Linked DNA regions of Homo sapiens: region 1 is linked to region 2. Evidence: promoter capture Hi-C in 16 types of primary human blood cells and fetal thymus (Javierre and others, 2016). All regions are on one chromosome and are shown on one strand. Each heading gives the region's core, a stretch centred on a gene start or on the middle of the fragment in contact. The rest is flanking DNA. Distances are from core to core; before and after follow the strand shown. Region 1 has its middle 15 kb from the start of RECK. Region 2 holds the start of NPR2 (natriuretic peptide receptor 2).

Region 1 (4,112 bases), core at 346-2,845, 230 kb after region 2:
GGCATTTTGGAATGTGGAAAAGGCAAGTGGGGCTAGGAGATGCCAGGTGCTATGACAGTCCGATGGCTCATCTTGAATTATTGTTCCATTTGGTGAAGGGGCTGGTGCCATTGTGGATCCTACCAGGTTATAAATTAATCACAGTCAACCTTGTGTTCACTCTTCAGCTGAGAGTGGGTTCCAGCCCTGAGGTAACCTTTTGTTGGACAGAGAATTCTGGAGGTGTCTGGTCCCTATCAGGATCTGACCTCTGAAGCATCAAAGGAAGCATATGACCAGATAAGTGAGCATGGTGTGTGCTTAACAAGCATCTAGGTAAATAAATGTGCATAAGGCATGGGAGCACAGAATGGGAAAAGAAAGGGAGTGGAGGTTCACAGCCCATTCTGAGGCTGTATTTCAAGATGAAAGGTAACACATAAGCAGTCTGTCTCAAAGTTATATCTTGAGACTGGGGGTGGGAGGAGGAAGAAAGGGGAAAGGAAAAAGAGTTATAAAATGCATTTTGAGGCTTAGCTGCTAAGCTGCTTGATTATAGCTGGGACTACTGGTGCATGCCCCCAAACCCAGCTATTTTCTAAAAAAAAAAATTTTGTAGAGATGGGGTCTCATTGTGTTGCCCAAGCTGGTTTTGAACTCCTGAGCTCAAGCAATCCGCCTGCCTCAGCCTCCCAAAGTGCTGGGATTACAAAGGGGAGTCACCGCATCTGGCCTCCTAGTACAAAATTTATATTCAATTGATAATAGCTCCTACCACTGCTTCTACAGCTGCTGTTGCTGTTATAGCCCTTGCACTGATTTTTTAGCATGTCTGTCTTCTCCTAAATATTGAGCTCTTTAAAGTAGAAACTTTGATTTTCATCTCTGAGTACCCAGCACTGAGAATCAGGCCTGGCACAGAAGGTGTGCTCAGTAGCCATCTCTTGACTTGAGCCAAACGGCCACGGCACAGACACTGTGTGCTTGCACAGGTACAGGACAGTCTCACAGCTCCTTGCTGGAAGTGCTCCTGTAGCAACCTGGGAAGGGGTCAGATCACAAAGCAGAGCTCGGAGGAGATGGATTTCTACAGAGTTTGTATGGTTTTCAAGCACAGGGTAAAATAAAGCCAACTGCAAAACCTCTGGATTGTCAACAAGCTTATGATGACCCAGGATAAATCACATGTGAGCACCTAGAAATCCGAAAGAGAGATTTTTAGTTCCCTGAAAAAAGCAAGGGAAATCTCAGGACCAGCCTCAGAAGCAAGTCAGTGTCTTTCGTGAGAGCTGATGGGGAATGAGGAGGAGGGAAGTTCAGAGATAACTGAACTTCAACTTGGCCAAAACGTGCAGGAGGCCCCTTGCTATCCAGTCATAGAGGCTCACTGGTGAAGTGAAATTTACTTAAAGGTCAGTAAAAGTTTAAAGTCTTGGCACTGGAGTTACAGGGTACCTGGGACTGACTCCTGGCTGATATCACCAGAGCAGAGGAGTTCTTGGCCCATCTGCCCTAAGGGAAGGGAAGAGACTAAATGTCATCAGTCACCTGCCCTTCTATGGGGACATCATCAACCACTTGACCTGTGAGGTCCTGGCTGTCCTGAAGTTGGCCTGTGCTGACATCTCTATCAACATGATCAGGCAAAAGGCCTTCTCCACCTGCTCTGCCCACCTCACAGTTGTGGTCATCTTCTACAGGACCATCCTCTTCACGCATGGGAAGCCCAAGTCGAAGGACCCACTGGGGGCAGACAAGCAGGATTTTGCAGACAAACTCATCTCCCTCTCCTATGGAGTGGTCACCCCCATGCTGAACACCATCATCTACAGCCTGAGGAAAAAGGGTGTGAAGGCTGCTGTGAAGAACCTGGTATTTCAGAAACCCCTAACTGAATGACAGACTGTCAGAATCCCAGGTGGCCAGAACATATGATCTCTAAGCACCTCACTGTGCTCATGGGGAAATGATAACTCAGAGGAAAGAAGGGACTTTCCCAAGGTCCAGGCCATGAACCATGGGACTAGGACGAACAAGTAAACTGAGTGTCCCCTGTTGTGTCACAAGTAATGGAAGCTTCTATCAAAGGACCTAGAGGGAAAGTGCCCCCACATTTCTACTTTTAATTTCCCATTGCCCCATTTCCTTACCTATCTATTTTTAATTTTTTGGCCTTGAATACATTTTTGGGTTACCACAAATCCTTTCTGACATGAGAGTAGGCATAATTGCAACCAAAGAAACAAAGCAACAAAAAAGCAAACAAAAAACCCAAATGAACTAATGACAAGACATGGCAGTGGGGGTTGGGGTGGGGGCTGGCCGTCGGAGCCCCTCCGTGGACCTTAGCTGTTTCTCTCCCCTGCTAGAAGCTAGTTTTAGACTGCATGGCTTTGAGGTCCTTTCAAAGTTGACCTTCCAAGGCAGTGATTCTAGCCACAGGACCTTGAGTATTGTGGTGTATTAGGCCATTCTTGTACTGCTATAAAGAAATACCTGAGACTGGGTAATTTATAAAGAAAAGAAGTTTAACTGGCTCATGGTTCTGCAGACTATACAAACATGGCTCCAGCATCTGCTTAACTTCTGGGGAGGCCTCAGGGATCTTTTACTCATGGCAGAAGGTGAAGTGGGAGCAGGCACTTCACATGGCCAAAGCAGGAGTGAGTGAAAGAGAGAGAAAGATAAAGAGAGAGAAAGAGAGAGAGAGCAGGCAGGAGGTGCCACACTTTACAACAACTGAATCTTGGGAGAACTCACTATCACAAAGACAGCACCAAGCCATGAGGAATCTGCCCGTGATCCAAACACCTCCCACCAGGCCCCAGCTCCAGCACTGGGGATTACAATTCAATATGAGTTTTGGGTGAGGAAAGTATCCAAACTATATCATGTGGAAATACCACTGGCCATCCGAATTGAATTATTATAACAGCAGCTTCTAGCACTTCCAGAGAAAACAAGATAGCTGTTCAAAGAGCATCTGAGGGGAGGGAGTGGAGAGGCAGCCGCTCAGGTCAGCATAGACCACAGAGTGCTTTCAGCCCAGGCCAGGCAGCCTGACACCTGCCTTCCAAGTCCAGCCCTAACACTATTTCCCGCTGCTGAGCACTTGGCTAAGTCTCCTTCCTTCTCTGGGCCTTGATTTCTTTGTCTGTAAAATGAGAGCGTATAGCCCGTCCCTGTCACTAGCCAATACAACTGGGGACTGCCAGAGAGGGGGAACTCATGGCTCGCACCCCACCACCCGCCACTCTTTGATTAGGGGTCTCCTCTGGGGTCGCCCCTCCATTCATTCCCTCCACAGTTCGTGAGCAATTGTTCCTAACTTCCAGTGCCACTTACAGAATTGGGTGGCTGGTTGCAGCTCTAGCTACCTGTGCCTGCTGCAAACCTGCCACCTGGTGGACATTGCTGAAGCTGACAATTGAAATTTCTGCAAGCTCCTGAGATAGGTGCTTCTCAAACTTGAATGTTTTCATGAGTTATCTGAGAATGTGGATAAGGATTCGGTGAGTCTGAGGTAGGGTCTGACATTCTACATCTCTAACAGATTTCCAGGTAATGTCTATGCTGCTGAACTCTGCAGGCCACGCTTTGAGGAGCAAAGCCCTAGAAGATGTGGGACCAGGGCAGGAGGGCTGAAGGAAGAGGCAGGGTAGGAAGACGTCCTCGCGCAAGTCTCCTACTGTGAGCCAAGCCCTTGGGCATCAGCAAGCCTGTGAGGTGTTCATCAGCCCGGCAAATTCCCTCATAGCAAAAGCCTAAAATGTCAATGCTTTTAAGTCTCTGGGTTGCAGATTTCACTTAATTTTTGGCCTTTGAGTATCCCTTAGTTTCTGGAAAGCTCATCAGTACCTTTTAAAAAAATGTTTTTACATTTTATTCAGCATGCTCAGTTGTGTTTCACACTCAGCAAGACGAGAATACTCAGAGAATCTAATTGTTCATGCTGCCAGAAGAGATACCCTTGACCAGTGTGGTTTTATATTCCCAAAATCAAGTTGCCCATTTGCTCCCCCTATTCAATCAATAGTTTCATTAATTCATGGAGATGAACAAAGACTCCCTAGAATGAAACGTTTGTTTTTCTCTTAGAGTGTCAAATTAGACAATAATCTTAAAAATTAGGC
Region 2 (3,689 bases), core at 1,190-3,689:
GGATTACAGGTGCCCACCACCACGCCCAGCTAATTTTTGTGTTTTTAGTAGAGACGAGATTTCACCTTGTTGGCCAGCCTAGTCTCGAACTCCTGACCTCAAACAATCCTCCTACCTTGGCCTCCTAAAGTGCTGGGATTACAGGCGTGAGCCACTGCACCAGGCTCCTTCCACTTCCTTTTTTTTTTTTTTTTTTTTTGAGACAGGGTCTTGCTGTCACCCAGGCTGCCTCTATCCTCTGGGATCAAGCGATCCCCCCACCTCAGCCTCCCAAGTAGCTGGGACCACAGGTTCGTGCCACCATATCTGATTGATTTGTTTGGTTTTTAATAGAGATTATAGGCATTACAGGCAAGAGCCACCGTGCCTGGCCCCTTCCTACTTTCTAGTTAACTGGCCAACTGGGAGGAAAAGGGAAAGGCAAGATGCTTGAATGTTTAATCCCTAACATAATGAAGAATAGTCCTTAATGTTCAGAATAATGACATATGATGCACTTGTACTTGCGTAGGAGTCTGGGTGACAGTGGTGGCTGATCCTCACTGAGGGCTGCAGGTGTTCCAGAGAGACTTGCCTGGGTTTGGTGGCTATTATATTGTAAGCACAGCTTTCTACAGTAAGTTCCATGAGTCAGCAAAATATCTATAAAGAGCCTCTCCTTGGAGACCATGAAACCTGCATTTTAATCTCTCTTTTGCAACTAAAAAGCCATGTGGGATTGGGGGAGAGGAGCAAGTAAGGACACTGCGACCTTCCTCTCTGGGATTTGGTTTTCAATTATCTTTAAATGAGAGGGCTAAACAATATATTTATATGATCCTCTTAGCCCTGCCATTCTGTAATTCTTTCAGGAATTTTGTCATTTTGGATTTGCTTGTCTCATAAAACAATGTGTAGTTGCTTAAAAATCAACTATTCTATTTGGTTGACTTGGTCTAAAGTATTTCTCATGTTGTCTCGTCATTCTTTTGACTGTTCCTTTTTTTTTTTTTTGCCTTGGCCAGATAGGACAAAATTCCTTTTCACTGCAGTATTGGGAGCCTGGAACTAGAGTTACCAACCCCTCTGCGTTAAAGAAGGAGCTGTCCTGAGGCTTCCATCTCTACTGGGCTTGAGGCAAGAACATTGTTAGGGACGGCCTGCTCTTGGCCTCTGTGCCCCAGGGATTGCAAATGCATGTTCCTCAAAGGTAAGGGCTGTATCATTCGGCTTTCTTTGTATTCACAGGTACAGCTTGTGCTAGGCAGCCGGTGTTCAATAAATATCGTGCCTAAGGATAAAGTGGCATTGTCCTTAATTTCCCCCACCAAACCACTAGGTGTCGCCTTCATCTCAGGGAAACCATGCCCGTCCTCGCCCTATACACTCCCACCCCACTCCAGGGCTCCAGGAGCGCTCTTAGCTTGTGATTTCTGGAGAAATAGCTTGAAGGGGGGAGAGAAACCGTGGCTCTTAGCGCGGGCAGAGAATGGGCTTATGTGCATGTCCTTTATGACAGTTGGAGAAAAATCCCCAAGGTCCCATAGCAGTCCCTCTCAGCCACCATGAGATCATCCCTCACAAGCTGTTCTTGGGGTCAGATTGGCACTCCAGATATGAGGGCCCTAGGGAGAGCTTCCTAAGGGAAGCTGGGAGCAAGGTGGAACCCCAGGAGAGCGTGGATGGGCTTCCACTGCGGGGAGTGTCCCGCCGGTCCGTTACAGGCTTTCCCCAGGCGCCAGCCTGCGCTGTGCAGGAGACAAAAGAAAATCGAGGCCCTGACTGAGCAGATGGTGCGGAGGAAGCCGGGCGGGCTGCGGTGGGCCTCTGAGGACACGAGGAGGGCAGGGGGCATGGAGACAGCGGGGGGCCGAGAGTTGAGTCCCAAGCAAGAAGGAGCCTCGTGGACTTTCTAAGGACTGGTGGGAAGTGTACAGCAGGGGCCCCTGGCTGCTGGAGGGGCCCGTCCAGGGAGCGGGCATGGTCCGCGGTGGAGTAAGCCGCACTGCCGTCGGGAGGGCGCTATGGTTTGCTAGGTGAGGGGGCTGGTGAGGATACCACACGTCTGGGGATCCTCGACTGCTTCCTGGAGACTGGAACCACTGAGGGACTCAGGGAGTTCAGAGGGGAGACCCAAGAAGAACGGGCTGAGCGAGGGGGAGAGGACAAACCCTGGGGTCGCTGGCGTGTGTGAGATGGAAATGGAAGGAGGGGCGGCAGGGGGACCAGGGGCGTGGGGGAGACCAGGGTAGGCCCTGAGAGTGAGGGAGCGCCCGGGAACCCTGCTGGCCGGCGAGGCCTTGGTGCGGAGCCCCCAAGTGCTCACCGGGGTGGGTTTGGGACCTGGCGGTCCCGAGCGCCCGGGTGGGGGGTGGGGGAAGGCAGCCGGCGCCGGAGGGTGGGGCCGGGAGGGAGGAGGAGAGGCAGCGGGGGAGGGGCGGGGGCGGGCGGCCTGCCCGGGGGAGTCGCACTCGGCCGCCGGCGCAGCGAGCGGAGACGGGCCGGGCCGAGGCGACCTGACCCGGACGAGCGGCGCGCGCGGGGCCCAGGCGGGGGGCGGGAGGAAGCGCCGGGCAGCGCCGGCCGCCAGGGCCCAGGAGAAGCGGAGCAGAGAGGAGCGGGGACACGGGCGGGGCCGCCGTAGCTCCGGATGGGACCAGCGCCCGGGCCCGTTAGTCCAAGCAGGAGCTCCGGGAGAATCCTTCACAGGGAGATTTACCCCTGCCTTCCCCTGCCCTCCGGCCCAGGCCTCGCTTCGCTCCCCGCCTGCCCATGATCCCAGTCCTTCCGCGGCGCGGGCACCCTCCCACCTTACCCCCTTGGTCCTATGTGGCGCAGCGCCCTCCTGCCCTCCCGGCCCTTTCAGCTGTGAGGTTCCCCCAGGCCGTTTCTTTGTACCACCCGCCCCCCACCCCCACCCCATCCCAGTCCCAGATCCCCTTTTCCTTCTCAGCTTTAGATTTATCAGGCTTCTTCACCTCGCACTGTCCCCATCCTGGCCGCAGGCCCCCTCGGTCCCTCCCTCCCCCTGCCACCCCGTTCTCAGTCCTCAGTCCTTGCCCTAGGCTGGTAGCCCACTCCTTGCCCGCCCCCCGCCTTCCTCCCATCTCCCCCTCCTCTCCCCGGCCCCCAGCACCTTCTGCATCCCAGCCTACCTAGCCTACTCCTCCTCTTCCTGGCCCTCTTCCCCAGGCTCCAGGCTGGGGGGTGCTCGCGTCTCCCCTGTAGGCCAGAGCAGCCCCAAGTTCTGGGGGCGGTGGGGCTGCTGCTTTATCCCCATGGCGCTGCCATCACTTCTGCTGTTGGTGGCAGCCCTGGCAGGTGGGGTGCGTCCTCCCGGGGCGCGGAACCTGACGCTGGCGGTGGTGCTGCCAGAACACAACCTGAGCTATGCCTGGGCCTGGCCACGGGTGGGACCCGCTGTGGCACTAGCTGTGGAGGCTCTGGGCCGGGCACTGCCCGTGGACCTGCGGTTTGTCAGCTCCGAACTGGAAGGCGCCTGCTCTGAGTACCTGGCACCGCTGAGCGCTGTGGACCTCAAGCTGTACCATGACCCCGACCTGCTGTTAGGTCCCGGTTGCGTGTACCCTGCTGCCTCTGTGGCCCGCTTTGCCTCCCACTGGCGCCTTCCCCTGCTGACTGCGGGTGCTGTGGCCTCTGGTTTTTCGGCTAAGAATGACCATTATCGTACCCTGGTTCGCACTGGCCCC

What was found. The method cuts DNA at HindIII sites, captures the fragments that hold promoters and counts their contacts. A CHiCAGO score of 5 or more calls a contact.
Region 1: a contact is called between a fragment that was not itself captured here and the fragment with the promoter of NPR2 in region 2, in 1 of 17 cell types (activated CD4 T cells). The highest score is 5.0, in activated CD4 T cells.

The regions. Positions count from the first base shown.
Region 1 is chr9:36,020,241-36,024,352 of GRCh38, forward strand. It overlaps the pseudogene OR2AM1P. Among named protein-coding and RNA genes, the nearest start is that of RECK, 15 kb to the right of the region's middle. The HindIII fragment of the contact is 916 bases long and covers 1,138-2,053 here.
Region 2 is chr9:35,789,152-35,792,840 of GRCh38, forward strand. NPR2 (natriuretic peptide receptor 2) reads left to right here and starts at 2,440. Exons shown (of 22, transcript NM_003995.4): 1 at 2,440-3,689. The coding sequence starts at 3,258. It also overlaps a transcript of RGP1 not described here. The HindIII fragment of the contact is 14,834 bases long and covers 1-3,689 here.